2 separate regions of the Homo sapiens genome follow, and region 1 is linked to region 2. Evidence: promoter capture Hi-C in human tissues and cell types (Jung and others, 2019). All regions are on one chromosome and are shown on one strand. Each heading gives the region's core, a stretch centred on a gene start or on the middle of the fragment in contact. The rest is flanking DNA. Distances are from core to core; before and after follow the strand shown.

Evidence for each region. Contacts are between HindIII fragments. The study calls those that stand out against the background at their distance.
Region 1: a fragment that was not itself captured here is called in contact with the fragment with the promoter of FAM186A in region 2 in 2 of the 25 tissues and cell types used here (IMR-90 fibroblasts and aorta).

Annotation. Positions count from the first base shown.
Region 1 is chr12:50,143,851-50,150,015 of GRCh38, reverse strand. It overlaps CERS5 (ceramide synthase 5), which reads left to right. Exons shown (of 10, transcript NM_147190.5): 2 at 5,959-6,064. The region is part of intron 1 of LOC124902931 (a long non-coding RNA gene); the gene reads right to left. Among named protein-coding and RNA genes, the nearest start is that of CERS5, 20 kb to the left of the region's middle. The HindIII fragment of the contact is 4,983 bases long and covers 1-4,401 here.
Region 2 is chr12:50,394,749-50,400,270 of GRCh38, reverse strand. It overlaps FAM186A (family with sequence similarity 186 member A), which reads left to right and starts at 3,662. Exons shown (of 8, transcript NM_001145475.3): 1 at 3,662-3,978. The coding sequence starts at 3,787. The HindIII fragment of the contact is 8,551 bases long and covers 736-5,522 here.

The DNA.
Region 1 (6,165 bases), core at 661-3,160, 250 kb after region 2:
AATCCCAGCACTTTGGGAGGCGAGGCAGGCAGATCACTTGAGGTCAGGAGCTCAAGACCAGCCTGGCCAATGTGGTGAAACCCCGTCTCTACTAAAAATACAAAAATTAGCTGGGCATGGTGGTGCACGCCTGTAGTCCCAGCTACTACTTGGGAGGCTGAGGCACAAGAATTACTTGAACCTGGGAGGCGGAGGTTGCAGTGAGCCCAGATCACGCCACCACACTTCACTTCAGCCTAGGCATCAGAGCGAGACTCTGTCTCTAAATAAATACATAAATAACATTTGCATTATACAGTAAGGTATATGAGGCCAGAGACTACAGACTAAAGGTTTCTGGCTACCCGAAGGCCCCATGGATCACCCTGAGAGCTAAAATCAATATCTCAGCATAAGTATAGCCCATTTGTGTTACTTGCCACAATAGTTGAGAAGCTTAATCTAGACTTTGGTTTTATTTGTGTATAATTCATATTCATCAGTGGTGTAATGAATCACAAAAGTAGCATTGTGAATATACATCCTGTCTTTGATAGGAAAAAGCGAAAGCACTAGGTAATTTCATCCTAATTAACCCAGGCTTAGGTCAACTGCTGCTATGTATCTGGAGAGCAGGAAAAGGGCAGAGTGAAATGATCTCTACAAAGCAGGACAAATCTAATACTGTCAGGATGGGTCACTAGACTCGTGTTCCTGGAGTTACAGGTGGAAAGTAGTAGCTTCTTTTTATAGACCACTAAATGCCTACTTACTAAAATCTGCCAGGAAAGGAAAAATCTTGTCTGACAAATTATTTTAAAATGTGGATTGATCCTGGAGAAGACAGAAAGCCACACTAAAAGTATAATTTGTCAGTATCATCTAGCACAGCAGTTTTCAAACTATGATCTCAGGACTCCTTTACAATCTTAAAAAATTTTCAAGGATCCCAAAGAGTTTTTGTTTATGTGGATAGTACCTATCAATGTCTACTGTTTTAGAAAAAAAATGGGGAAAATGTACATGTTTTCTACATGTATTTATACATGTATAAAATGTCTACACGCACACACACACACACACACACACATATATATATATATATATATTTTTTTTTTTTTTTTTTTTTTTTGAGATGGAGTCTCGCTCCGTCACCCCAACTGGAGTGCAGTAGCGCAATCTTGGCTCACTGCAACCTTCGCTTCCCGGGTTCAAGCAATTCTCCTGCCTTAGCCACCTGAGTAGTTGGGAATACAGGTGTGCACGACCATGCCCGGCTAATTTTTTGTTGTTGTATTTTTAGTAGAAGATGGCATTTCGCCATGTTGGCCAGGCTGGTTTCAAACTCCTGACCTCAAGTGATCAGCCTGCCTCAACCTCCCAAAGTGCCGGTATTACAAGTCTGAGTCACCACGCCCGGCCTATTTATTTATTTATTATTGAGACAGAGTCTGCTTTGTCGCCCAGACTGGAGTGCAGTGGTGAGATCTCAGCTCACTGCAACCTCTGTCTCCCGAGTTCAAGAGATCCTCTCACCTCAGCCTCCTGAGCAGCTGGGACTACAGGTATGTGCCGCCATGCCTGGCTAATTTTTGTATTTTTTGGTAGAGATGGGGTTTCACCATGTTGGCCAGCCTGGTCTTGAACTCCTGAGCTCAAGCAGTCTGCCCACCTCAGACTCCCGAAGTGCTGGGATTACAGGCATGAGCCACCGCATACAGCCTATTTATTTTTGAGACAGGATCTGGCTCTATCACACAGGCTGAAGTGCAGTGGCGCAATCACAGCCCACTGCAGCCTCGACCTCCCAGGCTCAAGTGATCCTCCCACCTCAACCTCCCAAGTTGCTGGGACCACAGGCATGAGCTACCACACCTGTCTAACTTTTGTGTTTTGGGGAGAGACAGGGTTTCACCACGTTTCCCAGGCTGGTCTCAAACTCCTGGGCTCAAGTGATCCACCTGTCTCAGTCTCCCAAAGTGCTAGGATAACAGGCATTAGCCACCGTGCCCAGCCCATATTTATTCATTTAAAAATAGCAATGGCCTGGGAAACATGGTGAAACCCTGTCTCTACAAAAAAAAAAATTTTTTAATTAGCTGGGCATGGCCAACACCTGTAGTCCCAGCTACTTGAGAGGCTGAGGTGGGAGGATCACTTGAGCTTAGGAAGTCAAGGCTGCAGTGAGCAGTGATCACACCACTGCACTCCAGCCTGGGTGGCAGAGTGAGACCCTGTCTCAATATAAATAAATAACAATGAACTCATTACGTTTTATGAAAAATAACTATTTTCCAAAACAAAAAACTGTGAGAAGAGTAGCATTTTAACATTTTTGAAAATATCTGGCAGCTGTAGTCTCATGTCAGCGTCTGCATTCAGTCTGTTGTTATATGTCATGTAACTTATGGAAAGTTCCACTGTACTCTCATGAGAGAGAATAGATTTTTATGAAATTATAGAATTATTCTGAAGATAGTTTTGACCTTGTAGACCTACTGAAAGGGTCTCTGGATCCCCCAGGGGTCTCTAAACCACACTTTGAGAAATGCTGATGTAGCAGAAATGATGAATGCCAGGCTCTGGAAATTGACCACCCTAGGTACCTATTTTTTTTTTTTTTTTTTTTGGAGATGGAGTCTCGCTCTGTTACCCAGGCCAGAGAGAGTGCAATGGCGTGATCTCAGCTCATTGTAATTTCCGCCTCCTGGGTAAAAGCAATTCTCCTGCTTCAGCCTCCTGAGTAGCTGGGGTTACAGGCACACACCACCACGCCTGTCTAACTTTTTGTATTTTTAGTAGAGATGGGGTTTCACCATGTTGGATAGGCTGGTCTCGAACTCCTGACCTCGTGATCCGCCCGCCTCAGCCTCCCAAAGTGCTGGGATTACAGGCATGAGCCACCGCGCCTGGCCTAGATACCTGTTTTATAAGTTATACCAAATACCAACCTTTTGTATGATGTAGAATTAATACTTTCTCAAAAGCTATAATTTCAAATAATTTCACTTTCTTCAGTAAGGTAATTCATTAACTGTGTATAACTAAATCTATATATTTAATTTTTATCACAAATTAGAAAAGATTATTTTCCAATCACATCTGGAAAATATAATAAAGCTTCATTCTGTAGCACAAAATAAACAATCAACAAGTATTTGTCAAATGTTCTTTTTTTTTTTTTTTTTTTGAGACGGAGTCTCACTTTGTCGCCCAGGCTGGAGTGCAGTGGCGCGATCTCGGCTCACTGCAAGCTCCGCCTCCCGGGTTCATGCCATTCTCCCGCCTCAGTCTCCCGAGTAGCTGGGATTACAGGCGCCCGCCACCACGCCCGGCTAATTTTTTGTATTTTTAGTAGAGACGGGGTTTCACCGTGGTCTCGATCTCCTGACCTCGTGATCCGCCCACCTCGGCCTCCCAAAGTGCTGGGATTACAAGCGTGAGCCACTGCGCCCGGCTGTCAAATGTTCTTACGCTCCATATAGCTGGAACTGACTGGATATGAGTAGCTTTATGCTTTTCACCGAACTCTGAACTAACGAGGGCAGGATGTGAGCTAATGACAATTCTAGATTGTTAAGTCCACTCCATGATCCAGATAATAGTAATTTTAAAATTGGCTTCACCGAGGTGAGCAGAATATAGACCTGTTATATCAAAGAGTATTTCTTGCTTCTCACTTTCTGCTGGAGGTACCAGAGAGTACCCAGACTGAAATATGTTTCTAGTGAAATAATAATAGCTACTCTTTAATGAATGTTTGCTAAGTGTCAGGTATTGGTGTAGGCATACATTGTTTCATTTTATCTTTAAAATAACCCTGTGAGGTAGATATTATCTCCATTCTATGGGTATGTAACAGTCACAAGGTCTTTCAGCTGGTAAAATCTGTCTAACTGCAGATCTGAGTTTTAATCAGCTGACTGCCTCTGGATTAAAGAAGCCTGGGTTAGGGGTAAGAGTAGGAATTGGAAAGGCTGTTTTCTGCCTTTGGATTTTCATGCAATTATGTCGATAGGAGAAAGGAGGAGACAGGGTTTTTAGATGATTTTTATCTCTGATATGGCATCAACTCAACAACAAAGAATGACGGCCTCATTTACTCTTCTGAATGCTGATTAATTTTGGGTCAGAATTGACCTCCAATACAACAAGAGTGGGTTTCACTAAAACATGTTGCTTGTCAGTTACTGAGCAACTGCTGAGCATAGTACCTTGGTAAATATAAAAGCAGTCTATTTGTGTTTACAAGGAGTTTAAACATGAGTTGGGGGTTAAATATTATTGGTATACAGAATAGTATACCAGTAAATGTAAATTAAGGTATCCACTGGCATTGGCCTTTGAATGGAACTATTTTTTTTTTCCCCCCCACCGGTGTAAAAGAGAATGTGTTACAGATGTGGCTAAATTTATGCTCTGAATAAATATTACTCTATGGCTCAGGAACTTTGGTGATAAGGTAAAAAGTTTTCATAGAGGGAGATAAAGTTTCTTATTCTCAATCCCTCCTTTAGAGATAATATATTCTAGGTTCAAATGCAGCTCAAGAAAATAGGTTAACGGCACTCCATTTTACACCTCCCAGTCATATTTTCATTATGGGACTCCTTAAGATGCTAAGGGCTAAAACTGGTTTTGACTTATCCTGAAAGTGGCAATATAGAGTTTTCCTAGTGCTGATGTTCTTAAAAATCTCTGATTACGGGGGAGAGTGAGATCTTTCTTGAAGAACCAAGGAATAGTTCCTCAATTTTCAAAGATTCAAAAGTTGGAAATTAATTATAATCAATCAATGATAACATCATAGAATCTTAGATATACAAAAAAATCTTAGAAATCATCTCATATAACCTCTTTTTATTTTTTATTCTTCTTCTTTTTTTTTTTTTTTTTTTTGAGACGGATTCTCACACTGTCGCCTGGGCTGGAGTGCAGTGGCACAATCTCGGCTCACTGCAACCTCCGCCTCCAGGGTTCAAGCAATTCTCCTGCCTCAGCCTCCCAAGTAGCTGGGATTACAGGCGCCCACCACCACGCCCAGATAATTTTTTTTTGTATTTTTAGTAGAGACGGGGTTTCACTATGTTGACCAGGCTGGTCTCCAACTCCTGACCTTGTGATCCTCCTGCCTCAGCCTCCCAAAGTGCTGGGATTACAGGCGTGAGCCACCACGCCCGGCTTTTTTATTCTTTTTAAAAATTTAAATCCTTGGGACTCTGCTTGATATAACCTCTTCTTTTAGATGATGAAACCAAGACCCAAGAGGTAAGTGATTTTACCAAGTTTATATGCCTTATTAGTAGATCTGAGACTACGATAGAGTGCTAATAGGTGATTTCCTTCTCACCTTTCCTAGCTTCCTGATTTCTTTCTTCTCGACTCCTGAAAGATCTAAGTATTTCCATAATCTCTTGGTTAGGCAGGAAGGTATCCAAGATCCAGGATATCTATATGCAGGAAGAGCTTAGTCTCAGTTCTACTTTTCCCTCCAATTAAGATCTTGGTCTTTTGATGTAAGGAAACTGCCATTTATTAATCACCTCCTTTGTGCCAGGGTCTTTCATATACATTATCTCACTGAATTACTTACAAGATTCTTATGAAGTAGATTAGTGGTTCTCACATTTTAATGGACATGTGAATCACCTGGGGATCTTGTTAAAATGCAGATTCTGATTTTGCAAGTCTGAGATGGGCTCAAGATTATGCATCTCTAAAAAGCTTCCAGCCAGCACAGTGGCCCACGCCTGTAATCCCAGCATTTTGGGAGACTGAGGCTGGTGAACATTGTCACCCTAAAGAAGTGATAAATGTTGAAAGTGATGGATATGGTAATTACCCCAGTTTCATCATTATACTATGTATACATGCATTGAAACATCACATTGTACCCCATAAATATGTACAATTATTATGTGTCAACTATAAATAAAATTTTTTTAAAAAGAATTGGCCCGTGGGTTTTCTCCATTACAGATTTATTGCCAAACCCTGTGCACTCTGTATTGGCATCGAGGACAGTGGTCCTTATCAGGCCCAACCCAATGCCATCCTTGAAAAGGTGTTCATATCTATTACCAAGGTAAGTGGGCAAAGAAACAGAGAGGAATATTCACATAAGGCGTTGCTCCATGGGGCAGGGGAGGATAGAGAGCACGTACCTCTAAGGGTAAGGATAGGATG
Region 2 (5,522 bases), core at 2,413-4,912:
TTGAATTAATTACCCATGTCACCGCTTAATATACCAGTAATAACACTTAATCTGGACAGTGTCTTCTTTGACGTTCTGTCATTAATTCAAACGAAATACAATAAAAACAAAATTTTTAAAATTATCTATAATTTTTGTTAGATGGTCCAAATTCCTTATTGTCTTTAGCAATATGTAGTAGGATAGATCGCTCCCACTTGTATGTCCTAGTTCAAACACTCATCTTTTGAAATAATCATGTCTTGGCTGGGAAGGGTGGCTCACGCCTATAATCCCAGCAATTTGGAAAGCTGAGGCGGGCGGATCACTTGCGGTCGGGAGTTCAAGACCAGCCTGGCCAACATGGTAAAACCCCATCTCTACTAAAAATACAAAAATTAGCCAAGTGTGGTGGTGCACACCTGTAATCCCAGCTACTCGGGAGGCTGAGGCAGGCGAATCGCTTAAACCCAGGAGGTGGAGTTAATAGTGAGCCAACATCGCGCCACTGCACTCCAGCCTGGGTGACAGAGTGAGACTCTGTCTCAAATATAGTAATAATAATAGTAACGAATAAAAATTGGCCGGACACCGTGGCTCACGCCTGTAATTCTAGCACTTTGGGAGGCCGAGGCGGGTGGATTGCCTTAGCTCAGGAGTTCAAGACCAGCCTGGGCAACATGGTGAAATGCCATCTCTAGTAAAATACAAAAAATTAGCCAGGCATGGCAGTGTGTGCCTGTAGTCCCAGCTACGTGGGAGGCTGAGGCAGGAGAATTGCTAGAACCTGGGAGGCAGAGGTTGCAGTGAGCCAAGATCACGCCACTGCACTCAAGCCTGGGTGACAGAGTGTGACTCTGTCTCTAAAAAATAATAATAATAAATAAAAATGAAATAATCATGTCTTGATCTTTTCCAATGGATTTTTCCATTCTATTATTTAAAAAATCTTCCCAAAGTGAAGGTTTCATTTTCACCAAACCACTGTTACTTGATTTCAAGACTTTGCCATTCTGATCTCATGAAATCCTCCTTGCTTTGCCGCAAATGGAATCTCCTCAGATACCAAATTAATTCCACCACCAAATTGCTGATATCTGTTATCTCAGGCCCACCCTAATGTGGTCCTCAGTAAATTCCCGTGAAGTCATCTCAGTGATTAAACCAATCTCCTTACTTTCCCCCTAAGATGCAAACTCATTAGCACTCACCGCCAAAGCCATGGCTCAAGGTGTTGCCCCTACCTGGATTGCCTCCATTTGTCAATCAACCTTCTCTCTCCATAAGGTTTTCTCAAAGATTCTGCTTCTACAGATCTCTTCTTCGTGTCCCTTATTAGCACTTGATTATTATATTCTATCTTAAATCTTTTCTTTTTTGTTTTAGTTTCTTCACAGGAACCCTATCATATATTCTTCAGTTTAGGATAATGTAAGCTGCATAGTGTTTCAACAAATGCTTGTCGAATTGAAAGGGAAGCAGGATTTAAAAATTGACTTTAAGAAGCCTTCATGGCCAGGCGTGGTGGCTCATGGCTGTAATCCCAGCACTTTGGGAGGCCACGAGGTCAGGAGATCGAGACTGTCCTGGCAAACACGGTGAAACTCTTTCTCTACTAAAAATACAAAAAATTAGCCGGGCGTGGTGGTGGGCGCCTGTAGTCCCAGCTACTTGGGAGGCTGAGGCAGGAGAATGGCGTGAACCTGGGAGGCGGAGCTTGCAGTGAGCCTAGATCGTGCCTCTGCACTCCAGCCTGGGTGACAGAGTGAGATTTTGTCTCAAAGAAAAGCCTTCATGTCTAGTTGCTGATTGATGAATTCCATGCTGCATAAAAGATGCAAGTGAGAGAGAAAGAATAATGCAAATTTAGTTTAGTTGACAACTAAACTTTGGGAGGCCGAGGTGAGTGAATCACTTGAGGAGTTTGAGACCAGCCTGGCCAACACAGTGAAACCCTATATCTACCAAAAATATAAAAAATTAGCCAGGTGTAGGCCGAGTGCAGTGGCTCACACCTGTAATCTCAGCACTTTGGGAGGCCAAGGCATGCAGATCACGAGGTCAGGAGATCGAGACCATCCTGGCTAACATGGTGAAACCCCGTCTCTACTAAAAAATACAAAAAACTAGCCGGGTGTGGTGGCGGGCGCCTGTAGTCCCAGCTACTCGGGAGGCTGAGGCAGGAGAATGGAGCAAACCTGGGAGGCGGAGCTTGCAGTGAGCCGAGATCATGCCACTGCACTCCAGCCTGGGCCACAGGCGAGATTCCGTCTCAAAAAAAAAAAAAAAAAAAATTAGCCAGGTGTGGTGGCGCATGCCTGTAATCCCAGCTACTCGGGAGGCTGAGGTAGAAGAATCGTTTGAACCTGGGAGGCAGAGGTTACAGTCTGCTGAGATGGCACTACTACACTCCAGCCTGGACAACAGAGTGAGACTCTGCCTCAAAAAAAAAAAAAGAAAGAAAGAAAGGAAGGAAGGAAGGAAGGAAGGAAGGAAGGAAGGAAGGAAGGAAGGAAGGAGAAAGAAAGAAAGAAAGAAAAAACAATACATACACCTGTAGTAAAACTATGTAAAAATAGATAACACAAATATGTAAAATTCATGATTGTCATTTCCTCTGGAATGGGACAGTGGGGAAGGAAGGAACCAGGGGTGGGGGACATCAAAGAGGACTTCAACCTTCTGTAATGCTTTTTTATTATTAAAAAAATTGGAAGCAAATATTAAACAAAAATTAGCCAGGCGTGGTGGCGCGCACCTGTAATTCCAGCTACTCAGGGAGGCTGAGGCACAAGAATCTCTTGAACCTGGGAGGCAGAGGTTGCCATGAACCAAGATCACACCACTGCACTCCAGCCTGGGTAACAAAGTGAGACTCTGTCTCCAAAAAAAAGGGAAAGAAAAGAAAAGAAAAGAAAAAAGAGTAAGCAGTGCAAAGAGTGTGATCCTCATCCAAATGATATCATCCAAGTTACTTCATCCAAATGATATCATCCAAGTTACTACATGTCTAGGAAAAGTTAAGGGGCAGCTGAGGAAGTAGTTGTAACCTTTATTCCATTACAGGCTTAAAAATACTTAAGCAAAACCCCAGGAAGAGAGAAGAACCAGGAGTTATATTTGACACACCTAGATTTTTTTTTTTTTTTTTTTGAGACAGTTTCACTCTTGTTGCCCAGGCTGGAGTGCAATGACGTGATCTCGGCTCACCACAACCTCCGCCTCCCGGGTTCAAGTGATTCTCCTGCCTCAGCCTCCCAAGTAGCTGGGACTACACGCATGTGCCACCTCACATGGCTAATTTTGTATTTTTTTTTTTTTAGTAGAGACGGGGTTTCTCCATGTTGGTCAGGCTGGTCTCGAACTCCGACCTCTGGTGATCCACCTGCCTCGGCCTCCCAAAGTGCTGGGATTACAGGCATGAGCCACTGCACCCGGCCAACACATCTAGATTTTAAGCTTATTTAAGCAGGGCTATATCTTCTGTTTATTTTAGCATTCCTGTTGTCTATTATTTCCTACCCTCCTTCCCCCCTCACCCTTCTACCATGGCAGCATATAGAATGACCAGTTCTCTGCACATAGTAAGCATTCTTTACATGTTTGATCAATGATAATGTCACAATGGGTCTATTGTGACATCAACAGGACGGGAATATCATGGGAGCCACCAATTAGTAGCAGAGTATGCCACAACTTCTAGGATCAGGAAAGACCTCTCCTAGCTTCCTACTGGATATCTTTATTAGCATTTTTGTAGATTCTGTGAAAAAGAAGAAATAAAACGAAATCACCCACATTTTCAAAATGTTCTTCAAAATGAAAAATGAGATAGACAATGACCCTGAATCAGAAAAATGCATCAAGGATTCCACCATCATGAGAAGAGAGCCCCAAAATATCCTTAGTCCTTTGATGCTCCCTAACCTTGAGATCCCATTCTCAGTAAAGGATATCATCTCTAGGATTGAGCGCGCACAGCTCCATCGAGCCAGAGAGGTAGGTAGTGAATCTGAAGTTTACAGACTGCAATTTTCTTTTTAAACTTTCTGTGACCAAGTACATTTTTGTTTATTTTAGAAATCACTTTCATGATATTTGACTGTATTTAGGGTAGCTTTGACTTCAAATGACAATTTCACCTGACACCGACTGTGGATATAACAAGCTCCAATTTGACATTAATCTCTTTATATCAGGTTTAATAAAGCCATTTAAGAAATAAATCAAGCCGGGCATGGTGGCTCACGCCTGTAATCCCAGCACTTTGGGAGGCCGAGGCGGGCGGATCACTGAGGTCGGGAGTTCAAGACCAGCCTGACCAACATGGAGAAACCACCGTTTCTACTAAAAATACAAAAAGTTAGCTGGGCATGATTGCACTTGCCTGTAATCCCAGCTACTCAGGAGGCTGAGGTAGGAGAATTGCTTGAACCAGGGAGGTGGAGGTTGTGGTGAGCCAAGATTGCACCATTGCACTCCAGCCTGGGCAACAAAAGCGAAACTCTATCTCAAAAAAAAAAAAAGTTTTCATTTGTTCCCTATGGAGGTTTTATCAAACAGCTATTAGCCAGATAGAATTTAGATGGCTTTGAATTCTAGCTCCTTTTATTTTCCCTGTACACTTCAAGGAGAAATTAGGAGAAATTCAAGGAGAATAGAAAGAGTGTTTACATAATGTCAGCCGGGTGCGGTGGCTTATGCCTGTAATCCCAACACTTTGGGAAGCTGAGATGGGAGGATCCCTTGAGGCCAGGAGTTAGAGACCAGCCTGGTCAACATAGTGAGACCCCATCTATATTTTTAGAAAAATAAATAAATAAATAAATACATAAGAATCTAATAGACCCCCAAACAATTAAGGTTATACTGCATTTTATTCTCTCGCAGTACAACAAAATCAGGCCAGGCACAGCGATTCATGCCTGTAATCCCAATGCTTTGGGAGGCCAAGGCAGGAGGATCTCTTGAGCCCAGGAGTTCTAGACCAGCTTGGCCAACATAAGGAGACCTCCTGTCTACTAAAAATAAAAAAATTAGCCAGGCATGTTAGCTCAAACCTGTAGTCCCAGCTCCTTGGGAGGCCAGAGGATCCCCTGAACCCAGGAGACTGCAGTGAGCACCATGCTTGCACTACTGCACCCCACTCAGCATGGGTGACATAGCGAGACCCTGTCTCAAAAACAAACAAACAAACAAAAATCAGTCATGTTTGATGAAATTGATTAAGGGGGGGTTCTTTCCTATGTTTAAGGAAAGCTAAACTGGTCACAGTGGCTCATGCCTGTAATCCCAGCACTTTAGGAGGTCAAGGTGAGAGGCTCACTTGAGCCCAGGAGTTTGAGACCATCCCAGGCAACAAAGCAAGACCCTGTCTCTAGAAAAAATTTAAAAATTAGCCAGGAAGTGGTGGTATGCACTTGCAGTCCCAGCTACTCGGGAAGGTCCCTTGAGACCAGGAATTTGAGGTTACAGTGAGCTATAGATTGTGCCACTACATTCCAGTCTGGTGACAGAGGGACTCTATCTCTAAAAAAAAAAAA